3 separate regions of the Homo sapiens genome follow, and regions 2 and 3 are each linked to region 1. The links are contacts of gene promoters, found by promoter capture Hi-C in blood cells and fetal thymus (Javierre and others, 2016). All regions are on one chromosome and are shown on one strand. Each heading gives the region's core, a stretch centred on a gene start or on the middle of the fragment in contact. The rest is flanking DNA. Distances are from core to core; before and after follow the strand shown.

Region 1 (3,696 bases), core at 879-3,378:
CTGTAACTTTTTAGTTTTTGGTATTTAATATAATTAGGGATGGAAAGCAGGTAAAATGAGAATTCACCAAAACTGTATTGAGCATCTACTAATCCCCAGGAAGTGTGCTAAGCCCTGGGAATTCAATCACGATCCAGACAATTCTTTCCCCTCAAGGATATATGAGATTTTTTTTTTTTTTTTGAGACAGTTTTGCTCTGTTGGCCCAGGCTGGAGTGCAGTGGCGCAATCTCGGCTCACTGCAACCTCCGCCTCCCGGCTTCAGAGATTCTCCTGCCTCAGCCTCCCGGGTAGCTGGGATTATAGGTGCATGCGCCACCATGCCCAGCCAATTTTTCATATTTTTAGTAGAGAAAGGGTTTCGCCATGTTGGCCAGGCTGGTCTCAAACTCCTGACCTCAAGTGATCCACCCGCCTCGGCCTCCCAAAGTGCTGGGATTATAGGCATGAGCTACCGTGCCAGGCCTTCTCAAGGATATATGAGATTTTATCTTAAGTTATATTTTGAAGTGGCAGCTTAAAAAGACATGTTTGGTTTTGATACATTTCACTTGGCAAGGTCTGAGAAAATAAATACATCATATTTCCCGCTTTTTCTTGTCCAAGAGATGTTGAGAAGGGCAGTTTAAATCCTGACTTACTAGCACTGTGAGACAGGACAAAGGCAGCTAGAACAAGTTATCTGATCTCTAACATAATCTAATGCTATCTAACTAGCATCATTAGGTTACAATGAACAGTTTTCTTTCAACCGGTCAGTTACTGAGCCTCTGGTATGAACGACGAGAATTTAAAATGTTTTATCCAGGGCCAACATCATGCTTCATGTTTAACAACGTTATACAATAAATTGTTAGATTTCATTTACAGACATAGGCCAGGCATTCCAAAGCCTGGCTGTAGTTAAGCTGGACACAGTTAAACCATCTTCGGCAGCCTATCTAGTTGACTACAACTAAGGTATTGGGGAATGACGGTGGATGGGGCCAGTTTTGGTTCAGGGAAAAACCCTCACTCTAGGGGTGGGCCACAATCAACGCCATCCAACTCAATTGCGCAAAATCATCTGTTCTCACGAAGCTTTGAGCAGTGCAGACGTGGAGCTGGAGATTGGCAGGCGAGGAGAGGCACAGCTAGATCAGCAGAACCAGTCCTGGTGATGGAGCGGGTGGCAGCTGTTGCACAGATCACCTTTTCCCGCCTACCATCTGAGCAACATTCAGAATCAGAAAAATGTAAAGAATCCTAAAATTCATCTCCTTTGGTGAACTGCCTAAATCTTTTTGCAAAATTTGGTGTGTAGGTGCATTTCTTTGGCAAGAGGATCTACAGTTCTCACCAGATTCTCAAAGGAGTCTACGCCTGAAAACACGAGATTCACCGATAAGGTTCAACTTCCTCACTTACTAGATGGAAAACTGAGAGGCCCAAAGGAGGAAAAGCAGTTGCCTCAAGACAAACAGCAGAGATATCAAAACCGAAGGCATTTCAATTCAATTCTAATTCTGGCTTCACACTATTGACCCTGGCCACGTCCAATACCTCTTCACTTCTCTGCAGGACCTAAAAGATCACCAGGAGGCGAGGGCTGGTGTCCGAGTCCCGGAGAGGTCGCAGGCAGTCCAGATTCTAGCATCACAGAAACTCTGGCCAAGCGCTCAGCCGGGGATTGTCTGCCATAAAGACCCCCGCACCCTGTCCTCGCCCCCGCCCCGTGGAATTCCTCTGCATAGGTGACTCCACGTAGAGGACCGAGCGCAAGGAGATCCCGGGGCGGTGGAGGCAGAGGACTACTGTGAAGAATGACGCCTACTCACTCACCTAACAGAGAGGAGGAAGCAGGCACGCCCCAAAAGCGGGTCGGGAGCAAATCCACGCCACTGGGAGGAGGCAAACCGAAGAATAACAGGAAATTACGTAAGGCGCACGTGCTTCTGAGGGGGGCGGGTGCGGGGCGTTGGAGAGGCGCGGCCGCCGCCCTGCGTCTGCGCAGTCGTCGGCTGCCGCGCTGCCGAGTCACTGGGGTGGGAGGAGCATAAGCAGGGGGAGGGGTGCATGCCGGAGTGCGCAGGCGCAACGCGACTCCCGAGGCGCGGGCCGCCCCCTTGGCTGGTTTGGATCCGGGTCAGTCGGGTGCCGAGATTTGGGAGAGACGCTCTGAACTGACTGCCCCGCATCACCGGAGCGTCCCAGCTGCGAGGAGGTAAGTGCCCTGACGTGACGGGGAGGGGCCGCAGCACTGCGTCTCAGCTTCCACTGCCGGTCTGGCCGCGGGCGGTTTTCCCCGGGCCCGCCCGCCTTGGGTCGCGTCGTCTCCCGACGCCTCCTGCCTGGGCCGGGCCTGGGCCTCTCCGCGCCCCCTTATCTGCCGCGGCCTGTGCCTGCTGGAGCTCCGAGCTCCACGCTCTCTCCCCTTCCCGCCTTCCCGTCCTCCCGCGGTCCCCCGCCCCGTCTCGCTCCTCCGCCGTCTCCCGCCCAGCGGCAGCTTCCCCTTTTCGCCCTCCTTGGCCGCCCTTTGCCCCTTCCAGTCCTTTCTCTCTCGCCTCGGAGCCCCATTCTCTTTGGCTACCTCTTCGGCCCCACTCCTTTCTTCTCCCGCATCCCTTGTGCCTCGCTCCGACTCCAGCCTCTCGTTCTGACCCCAGGAATCTCCCGAGGAGCGCAACTTCACAGCTGGAGACCCCGGGCGGGCAGTGCCCCTGGACAGCTCCCTGCTTGGCGTTGTCCCCACACTCCAAGCCCCGTCCTACCCCTCTGGGTTCTGACTAGGAATTTTCCTCCGTTCATGTTTAACCGCGACAGGCACAGACTCTGGGTGAAAAGAAAGAACTTTGTGCTTTGGCTGCAGCGCTGCGAGTATAAAGGGATGAGTGGGTTGCACGGAGAGGTGTGAATGTGCTTTTTGTCCTGGGGGCCGATTGTTTCCTCCCGGTCTAGTTTGCCTCTTAGAGTTGCTGGGTTTGGTTTTCTTCCCCATACTCTACGCTTTCTGGTGGTCTGGGAGTTTCGAAATCTTTAATGTTGTGATGACAACGCTTACCCGCGCATCCCTTCTTGATCGTTCTTAGGTCTTCTCAGGGGCCTGGAAGTGTAGACCTAGGCTTGGGATTCAAGGAGGTCTTGGTTAAAACGGCAAGATGTAAATAAGATTGTGACGCATCCATTTTGTTGAAAGAAAAAACCAGGAATTTGGCCTTTTGATGGAGGAACTTAGAAGAACTTTGTAATTTTTGTAAGGTTGTGGAAAATCCGAGGCAAAGTTAAATTGCCTGGTGTGATTTGACTTTAACTTCGAATAGGCTTTTTAAAGTTTCATCTCTTTGGAGATTGTTCAACTTCACGAGTTCACTGCAGTGAAAACGCCAAGACTGTCTCCCACAAATTTAATATTAATGAAGAAAGGCAAGCCAATTATATCTGTTGTCCGGAGTTAGTTGTACAGCCCTTTCTTTGAATGGGGATCTGGGGATGCAGAGGAGCATAATGAGCCTTTTATAATTACAAACATGCTCTTCTCTAGCTCTTAAGGTTATGCCTAACGCTCATTTGCTCTTGGCTAAAATAACTGAGAAAAAAAGTGAGTAGTAAAAAAATGCTGGAAGTCTGAAAATGGTTTAGACAGAACTTCATTCCTGAAGTTTTAGTCTGTAGCCAGATTTTAATTCTGGCCTGTTTTGGTTTTTAGATGATAGATCT
Region 2 (3,696 bases), core at 1-2,500, 1.7 Mb before region 1:
ATACGCACAAGCGGCACAGCTTAGTGTGAGGCTAAATGGGGACACTGCAGTATTTCCAAAGCCAGCTGTGCATCAGAATCATCTTGGAGTTTGTAAAAAAAAAAAAAAAATCAGACTCCTGTGCCTCACTGCGCATCTCAGAAGCCAGAAATAAATACGGAGGTGAGGCACACAAGAATTTGTATTTTTAAAACGCACCGTAAGAGTGACTGGGAGACAGGATGACTCATTTTTTCACACTATTTGAAAAAATGTACCCATTTTTTGCAATTAAAACCATTTTTAATTTCCTATGTGACTTGAGCGCAGCAGGTCTGTGGCCGAAGTACCAGCCCCTGGGTTGGACAGACCCGGATTCCGGGCCCTTCTGCTTTCCGGCTTATAAACCGGAATCACTCGACCGTTATATGTAGAGTCCAGCATTGTACGCTCCCAGTAAGACATAACTGCTCTTAAGTTAACGTCTTTATTTATCCTGTGGCTTCCCGACCCCCACGCATACCGCAGTTTGAGAATTACCGCTGCTCAAGGATAAACAACTCTATCTGCGCAACCAGAAAAACCCACCAGAAGCCAGAGTCCGAGTCCGGGATTGGAGGCACGTGGGGCGGGACCATCTCCGCAATGTACCAATCAGAATTCTCCGGCCCAGTAGGGAGGAGTCAAAGGGCGAACAAAGTACGCAGGCGCGACGGCGCACGAAGGCGAGAGGCGAGCTCCAGCGCGCGCGCGCGCGCGCACCTTCCCCTCCCCCTACCCCAGCGAGGGTGGGCTGTTTGGCGCGCGCGCGCGCGCCGGCCCATCTCTCGGGCTCCGCCCCCCGCCCCGCCGCGCGCTCCCGCCCCCGGGCTGAGGCGACTCAGAGTCGGAGCCCGACACAAAGGCGGTGGCGGCGGCAGCAGCGGAGGGGCCCTAGAGCCCGCTCCGCTGGGGCTCTCCGGGCCCACCTCCCTCACTTCGGCCACCGGCGCGGCCGCCCACCCGCGGGTCTAAGATGGCGGCGGCAACAGAGACAGGGCAAGCGGCAGTCCCGAGCAGAAAGCGCCGGAGGGGCCGCCGCCCCCCAGCTTCGGATCCCCAGACCCTGGCGCGGCTCGCTGCGGGACCATGGCTTCCTGGGACTCTTACCTGCCCGGAGCGGACTGGAGGGGACGCGGCTACACGTTCTGCTCGACCGCCCGTTTTGCCGCCTCCGCCTCGCCCTCCCCAGCGCCGCTGCCGCCATCTTGTGTCCCGGGCCGGGACTCCGCGCTGCGCATGCGCTGGTACCGCCTCTGAGGGACCTCGCCGCGGCCGCGCCGCCATCTTGAGTGTGGCAGGGTCGGCTGGCTCCTCGCACCCAGCTTGCTTTCGGCCCCCTCCCCTTCTTCCCATCCGTCCCTGCTGTTCCTTGTGGCGCTGAGGAAGGGGAGACAGCTTTGTAGGCCTGCGGGTGGACTGAGGAAGGAATGAATTCACTGGCACGTCCCCGCCTCAGTTTCCCCCTCGAGCACACACGCAGGAGCCGGATGTTCGCGGTGGGCGGTGCGCGGCGGGGTTGGACTGAGCGTGCGCACTGGGGGGCGTGGGGGCTGTCTTAGAACCTGCGGGGGTCTCGGGTTCTGCCGCCGGCCCAGGGGAGGCATCGTGGTGACGTAGGCTCCGGACGTAGCAAGGACCTGGGTCCTGGCACCCGCGCGGCTCTGCCTCTTCCAGCCAGTCTCTTTCCCTCTCTGGGCCTTTGTGCTGCGTGGTGTCCAAATGTTAAGAAGCCCTGCCCCATGCCCGGGCTACATATACATCGAACCCAAGCTGTAAATGCTCTTGAGTAGAAGCAACTTAAACTAGCCTTCGGGGGCAAGTAATAGAGATGGCTTTCGGCAGAGTTGGGAAATCAACTAAATGCATTGTAGGGCCTTTCCAACATTGACATCTGTGGCCATTAGTTGCAGTTCAAAGCCTCACTGAGCCCTCAAACCAGCTACAGCGGGTAGCCTGGCAGGGAACTGGCAGCTGTGAGGTGCTCCTCATCCGGCTCCCTGCAGGATTCTTTTTGGTAGGAGCCTGCAGGCGTCCGAGTGGTAGCTCCACCCATCTCCGGTCTCCCCAGCAAGCATCCCTTCCAGTGCTAGCTTGAGAAGAGGAAAAGCTTGCCACCTGCTGTCAGACCGGCGCTTGTGTGGAGCCAGGGGCTGTAGGTACCCCGGCTGAGTAGCCTCTCAGATGTCCATGGTCCTGGCTGCACGCCAGCGTGGGGGCAGGCAGGCGGACGCTCAAGAAAAACGGAGGCACCGATATGAGTAGTAATTGAGAACGAGGGTTCATGATCCTCATCTGATTTCAATCCCTGCTCCTCCACCCAAAATGTGTGGCCTTGAAGGAGTTAACCAATTTAAATTTTAGTTTCCTCAGTGGAAGATAATAAATCCGCCTACCTCATAAAGGTTTGGTGAGAATTAACTCAGGTGATGCATGTGAAGTCCTCAGCGCAATACCTGGCGCTTCCTAAGTGCTGAATCGGTTAGCCGTGATCATCTCACAGTGGCATGAGCATTGCTCCAAGTAGATTTGAGCCCTCCAGAAATAAGCCAGCTCTATATAGGCACAGCAGTTCTGCCCTCGCAGAGCTTCTCGTTCAGATAAGAGGCCTGATGGGAAACCAGACTCCTGGGTCCTGTCTCAGTTCTGGAAGGGTGGGGGGCCAGCTTTGATTTATGCCTGCTGCCCTGGCATAATTACTAATATTGCCTCCTTTTTCAGAAGTGCCCTGCTTTGGGCCGGGCGTGGTGGCTCACCCCGGTAATCCCAGCACTTTGGGAGGCCGACGCAGGTGGACCACCTGAGGTCAGGAATTCAAGACCAGCCTGGCCAACACGGCGAAACCCCGTCTCTACTAAAATTACAAACATGAGCCAGGCCTGGTGGCGCGCGCCTGTAATCCCAGCTACTCGGGAGGCTGAGGCAGGAGAATCACATGATCCCGGGAGGCAGAGGTTGCAGTGAGTCGAGATCGCGCCACTGCACTCCAGCCTGGGCGACAGAGTGAGACTCCTGTCTCAAAAAAAAGTACTGCTTTGGGCAGTAAACTACGTGGTCGCTCTTGACCTACGGGATAACCAGTTTTCCATGCTCATGCCCCCCAGCTAGCCCGCGCTTTCACTAAAGTTTAAAAACCATGTAGTGATTATTACCCTTTTTTTTTTTTGAGACGAAATCTCGCACTGTCGCCCGGGCTGGATTGCAGTGGCGCGATCTCGGCTCACTACAACCTCTGCCTCCCGGGTTCAAGCAATTCTCCTGCCTCAGCCTCCCAAGTAGCTGGGATTATAGGCACCCGCCACCACTCCCACCTAATTTTATTTGTATTTTTAGTAGAGACGGTGTTTCACGATGTTGGCCAGGCTGGTCTCAAACTCCTGACCTCATGATCCGCCCGCCTCGGCCCCCCAAAGTGCTGGGATTACAGGCGTGAGCCACCGCGCCCGGCCTTTTATCTATTCTTTTATGTTTTCAAAGTATTTTCTCATTCATTGTTCAGATTCTCTTAATTGATAACCAAGATACCAAACATCCCAAGTGCCTAGTCTTCTGTTTTATCATGGAATTCTGTGAATTATTACCTAAATCTGCACATGAGCAAACAGGTTGGAGCGAGGGGCAGGGGCGAAGTCATTGTCCAGGTTCACACAGCCATCAACAAGTAACAAAACTGGGATT
Region 3 (3,696 bases), core at 701-3,200, 1.2 Mb before region 1:
TTTACAGATAAGGAAGCTAAGGCTCTGAGAGGTTAAATATCTTGCCCAAATCACACAGGTGGTAAGAGGCAGAAGCAGAATCTGAGCCCGTTTGTCTGAATCCAACACCTGTGCTCTGTAAGCCACTCTGTTTCACTGCCTTCTACTTCACAGAAATAGTAAGGATCCCAAGTTGTAAGGGTCCCGAGTCTGGCATAGAGCGAGGACTCAATCAGCGGGAGCCATTATTATCATCACAGTATTGCCATTATCTGCAGCCCAAGGCCTCATCTCTCTCCACGCCCTTGGCTAGGATGGTGTTGCCACTGGGGGTTTGCAGGGGGCCCAGTCTGTTACAGACACCCTTTGGGAAAGTCTCAGCATTTAATATTTCTGTCAAGGCCACCTTTCTGGGCTCCTCTTTCTGATTTGGCCTCTAGTCGCAGGCAATCAGGAAACATAGAGCTAGAAGGATCAGGATCATCTAGCCCCATCATTTTCCAACTTAAAAATTTTTTTTTTGTATGGAGACAGAGTCTCACCATGTTGCCCAGGCTGGTCTTGAACAGTTTTCCAACTTTATTAAAGCAGTGAAACCTCTGTTCAAATATCTATTTCCAAGCCCCAATTGTGTTGTTATGAGCTGGGGAGAGGTATCCTGCCCCAGTGGGTCAGGGGAGGTGACATTGAGACACCTCCTCAGAACCCTAAGGTTCTTGGAGCACAATTTAGAAAAACTACTGGACTGTTCACCCTCCCAGCTGAAGTCCAGAGAGACAGAACCCTAATCTAGTGGCAGATGATGTAGACAATATTCATTCTTAGGGGCCTTAACTACTAGTCATGGCTTTCACCTTCCCAATCTCTCACATCCCTCTGCTAGTGCTCATCACACCTCCTCACACCAGCACAAGGCCTCTGGGCAGTAGAGAAGTTTCTTTGCAGGCCCCTCTAGCCTTTCTTAACAGGCTCCCCTGAGCTGGCTACATAGCAACTGTCTCGGGAACCAGGGCCTCGGTCCTGCTGTGCTGACTGCCTTTCCTCTCCCTGCCAGGGAAAACAGTGCCTGCAATAAAACAAAACAAAATAATGAAGAGTTCCAGGAGATCGGGTGCTCCGAGAAGGAACTCAAGTCCAAGAAATTAGAGTCCACAGGGGACCCTAAGAAAAAAGAGTACAAGGAGTGGAAGTCCCAGGTGCAGTCAGGGATGAGGAACAAGGAGAAAACGTCATTGGCGGCAATGCCACGGAAAGAAAAGCATATAGAGCCTGAGGTTCCAAGGACATCGAGGGATGATAGCTTGAACCCTGGAGTCCAGGGGAGGCAACCACTCACCGAGGGCCCCCGAGTCATCTTCATTAAGCCCTACCGCAATAGAACTCCCATGGGGCACATGAAGCAGCTGGATGTAGCCGACCAGTGGATCTGGTTTGAGGGGCTGCCCACACGAATCCACCTCCCGGCGCCCAGGGTGATGTGCAGATCCTCCACCCTGCGTTGGGTCAAGCGCCGCTGCACCCGCTTCTGCTCCGCATCACTTGAAATGCCTATGTGGCATCCATACAAGGTGGGTGTGACAACAACACTGCCAGGCTAGGTGAGATGCAAGCCCCAAGCCAGGCCCAGAGCTGGGCCCCAGAGTCAGGGTTCAGGATCTGGAGTCTTGAGTGGTGTGTGGCTGGTAGTGCTGGGAGGCTCCGCCTTCATGTCCAGAGAGGGGGAAGCCTTAGACCAACATCATACAGAAGGGTAGTGACTAGGTTGAGGCGTCTCAGGATACAGCTAGGAGATGTGTGGAAGGAGGGGCACTGAAGTGAGCCATCTCACTGCCTGAAGGCCTTAGCAGAGGTGGAAACTGCTGTGGCTCTGAATCTCACAGTCAGAGGCCTACATAAGTGGGTTTAAGGATTTCCAAATGTGGGAGGGGGGAGATGGTCAAGTAGGGCTTTGCTGCATCCCATTCCCTCTAAGATCAATTCAACTCTCTATTTATGTTTGATTGATTCATGCCTCAAATAAGATTTACTCTGAACAGGCTAGGCATGGTGGCTCACGCCTGTAATCCCAGCACCTTGGGAGGTCGAGGCAGGAAGACTGCTTGAGGCCAGGAGTTCAAGACCATCCTGGGCAACATAATGAGACACTGTCTCTACAAAAAATTTAAAAATTAGCCAGATGTGGTGCCTTGCGCTTGTAGTATCAGCTACTCAGGAGGCTGAGGTCGGAGGATCGCTTAAGCCCAGGAGTCGAGGCTGCAGTGAGCTGTGACTTCGCCACTGCACTCCAGCCTGGGCAAGAGAGCAAGACCCTGTCTTAAAAAAAAAGAAAGGAAAAAAAGATTTACTCTGAGCAGAAAGTTCCTTAGCAAAAAAAGAAGAAAATACCGCAGCCCTTTCGTGGGAGAATGAAAGTCCCACGAAAGGAAGGGGGTGAGTGCCCACCGGGTCTAGCTTAAAGGGAGGCTTTTCCTTTTTAGCAAAGGCATTTCCAACCTACCAGACACCACAGCACCCTTGTCCCTGCGCCCGCTCCCCAAACGACCAGCGCCCCCTGGGGACAGTCTTAGCGCCTAACACCGAGGTTTCTGCTGGCAGGTTGATGTGACCTGGACGAGAGCCAGAGGTGCGAGCAGAGGGTGGAGATCGCGCCATCAGCTGAAGGGGAGGAATGGGTGGCGAAATTCACGAGTCTACAAATAAGATCTTCCATATGGCACCTAAGACGAATACTGCTTACTCTGCCTGTTTGTCTGGGGCTGGGAAGGATGAAGGAAAGAGGCCTTCGGTAGAGGGAGCCTGTGTCGCGACTTCAGGCTTCCCCCACCCCCACCCCGAGGCCCCTAAGGTCAGTCTAGAACCAAAGAAGCCAGCGAGCAGCACCCCTCCCCCACCTCCGCGAGCTAGTCTCCTGAGTGGCGCGCTCTGTGAAGTCAGGGCGCTCGTGTGCTTCCTGGGTGCAAAGTGCCTCACAATCGCCCCGCGAGCTCGCAAGAGGAAACCGCGGCGCGGAGGCAGCAAGTAACTTGCCCAGGCTCACTCAGCTAGAAAGTGGCAGGAGCAAGGGCTCCTGGTTGCTCCCCATTCCATTTTCCCAAGAAAGGGAAAAGGCGAAATGAGAGCCTGCTCAGAAGTCACGAGGCAGGCGGAATAGCCCCAGCACCCTGTAGGTCATGCGCGTGCATTGCGACCTGATTGTCAAAAATTGATTGTCAAAAACTGATTGCACTGTGGCTGGTGTCAAAAAGTGGATGTCAGCTGGGCCTCCAAATGTGTCCTGCCTTGGTCACAGATCACAGAAGGCACCGGATCAGGAGGGGGAGCTGGTACTGCATCTCTACTGCTCCAGGGTGACATGGCAGGTCCACCCTCAATCTGAAGACCTCAACCCCAAGCCCTGGTCGACCCCATCTGGCCGGGGTCACCCTCTGTCGGTAGGAGTCACAGGGTCCTAACCATGCCGTTGGGGAGAGGAAAGCCAAGGGAGCCCGAGTTTTCTCCGGACGAAGACCTCCATATTCCCCAGAGGCAGGCTGCATGGAGTGGGCGCCCTCGGGAGAGCAGTGGAGCCATCGAGGGGCACAGAGCTCTCCGGGATTGGGGGTCAGGGCAGCGATGCAGATAGATCTCCAGTTTGGGACAGAGGGAGAACGATTGGATGGACTCTCCCCCCCTCCCACCCCGCCCACTCACACACTCCTCCCCACCATTACTGGGCAC

What was found. Contacts are between HindIII fragments. The CHiCAGO score rates a contact against its expected background, and 5 or more counts as called.
Region 2: a contact is called between the fragment with the promoter of PCIF1 here and the fragment with the promoter of OSER1 in region 1, in 1 of 17 cell types (fetal thymus). The highest score is 6.0, in fetal thymus.
Region 3: a contact is called between a fragment that was not itself captured here and the fragment with the promoter of OSER1 in region 1, in 1 of 17 cell types (total B cells). The highest score is 5.2, in total B cells.

Annotation. Positions count from the first base shown.
Region 1 is chr20:44,209,203-44,212,898 of GRCh38, reverse strand. It overlaps OSER1 (oxidative stress responsive serine rich 1), which reads left to right and starts at 2,128. Exons shown (of 4, transcript NM_016470.8): 1 at 2,128-2,203. It overlaps OSER1-DT (OSER1 divergent transcript), which reads right to left and starts at 1,939. Exons shown (of 3, transcript NR_038339.2): 1 at 1,822-1,939. RefSeq lists silencers at 1,726-2,174, 2,370-2,439 and an enhancer at 2,099-2,718. The HindIII fragment of the contact is 3,146 bases long and covers 1,083-3,696 here.
Region 2 is chr20:45,932,237-45,935,932 of GRCh38, reverse strand. PCIF1 (phosphorylated CTD interacting factor 1) reads right to left here and starts at 1,250. Exons shown (of 17, transcript NM_022104.4): 1 at 1,129-1,250. LOC107985388 (pre-mRNA-splicing factor cwc22-like) reads left to right here and starts at 862. Exons shown (of 1, transcript NR_171669.1): 1 at 862-2,439. RefSeq lists a silencer at 720-929 and enhancers at 558-1,248, 1,249-1,940, 2,200-2,349, 2,632-3,324. The HindIII fragment of the contact is 3,152 bases long and covers 1-2,130 here.
Region 3 is chr20:45,372,890-45,376,585 of GRCh38, reverse strand. It overlaps TP53TG5 (TP53 target 5), which reads left to right. Exons shown (of 5, transcript NM_014477.3): 4 at 1,034-1,547; 5 at 2,575-3,696. The coding sequence ends at 2,679. The region is part of intron 3 of SYS1-DBNDD2 (SYS1-DBNDD2 readthrough (NMD candidate)); the gene reads right to left. It also overlaps a transcript of SYS1 not described here. Among named protein-coding and RNA genes, the nearest start is that of TP53TG5, 3.6 kb to the left of the region's middle. RefSeq lists an enhancer at 3,184-3,243. The HindIII fragment of the contact is 5,473 bases long and covers 1-3,696 here.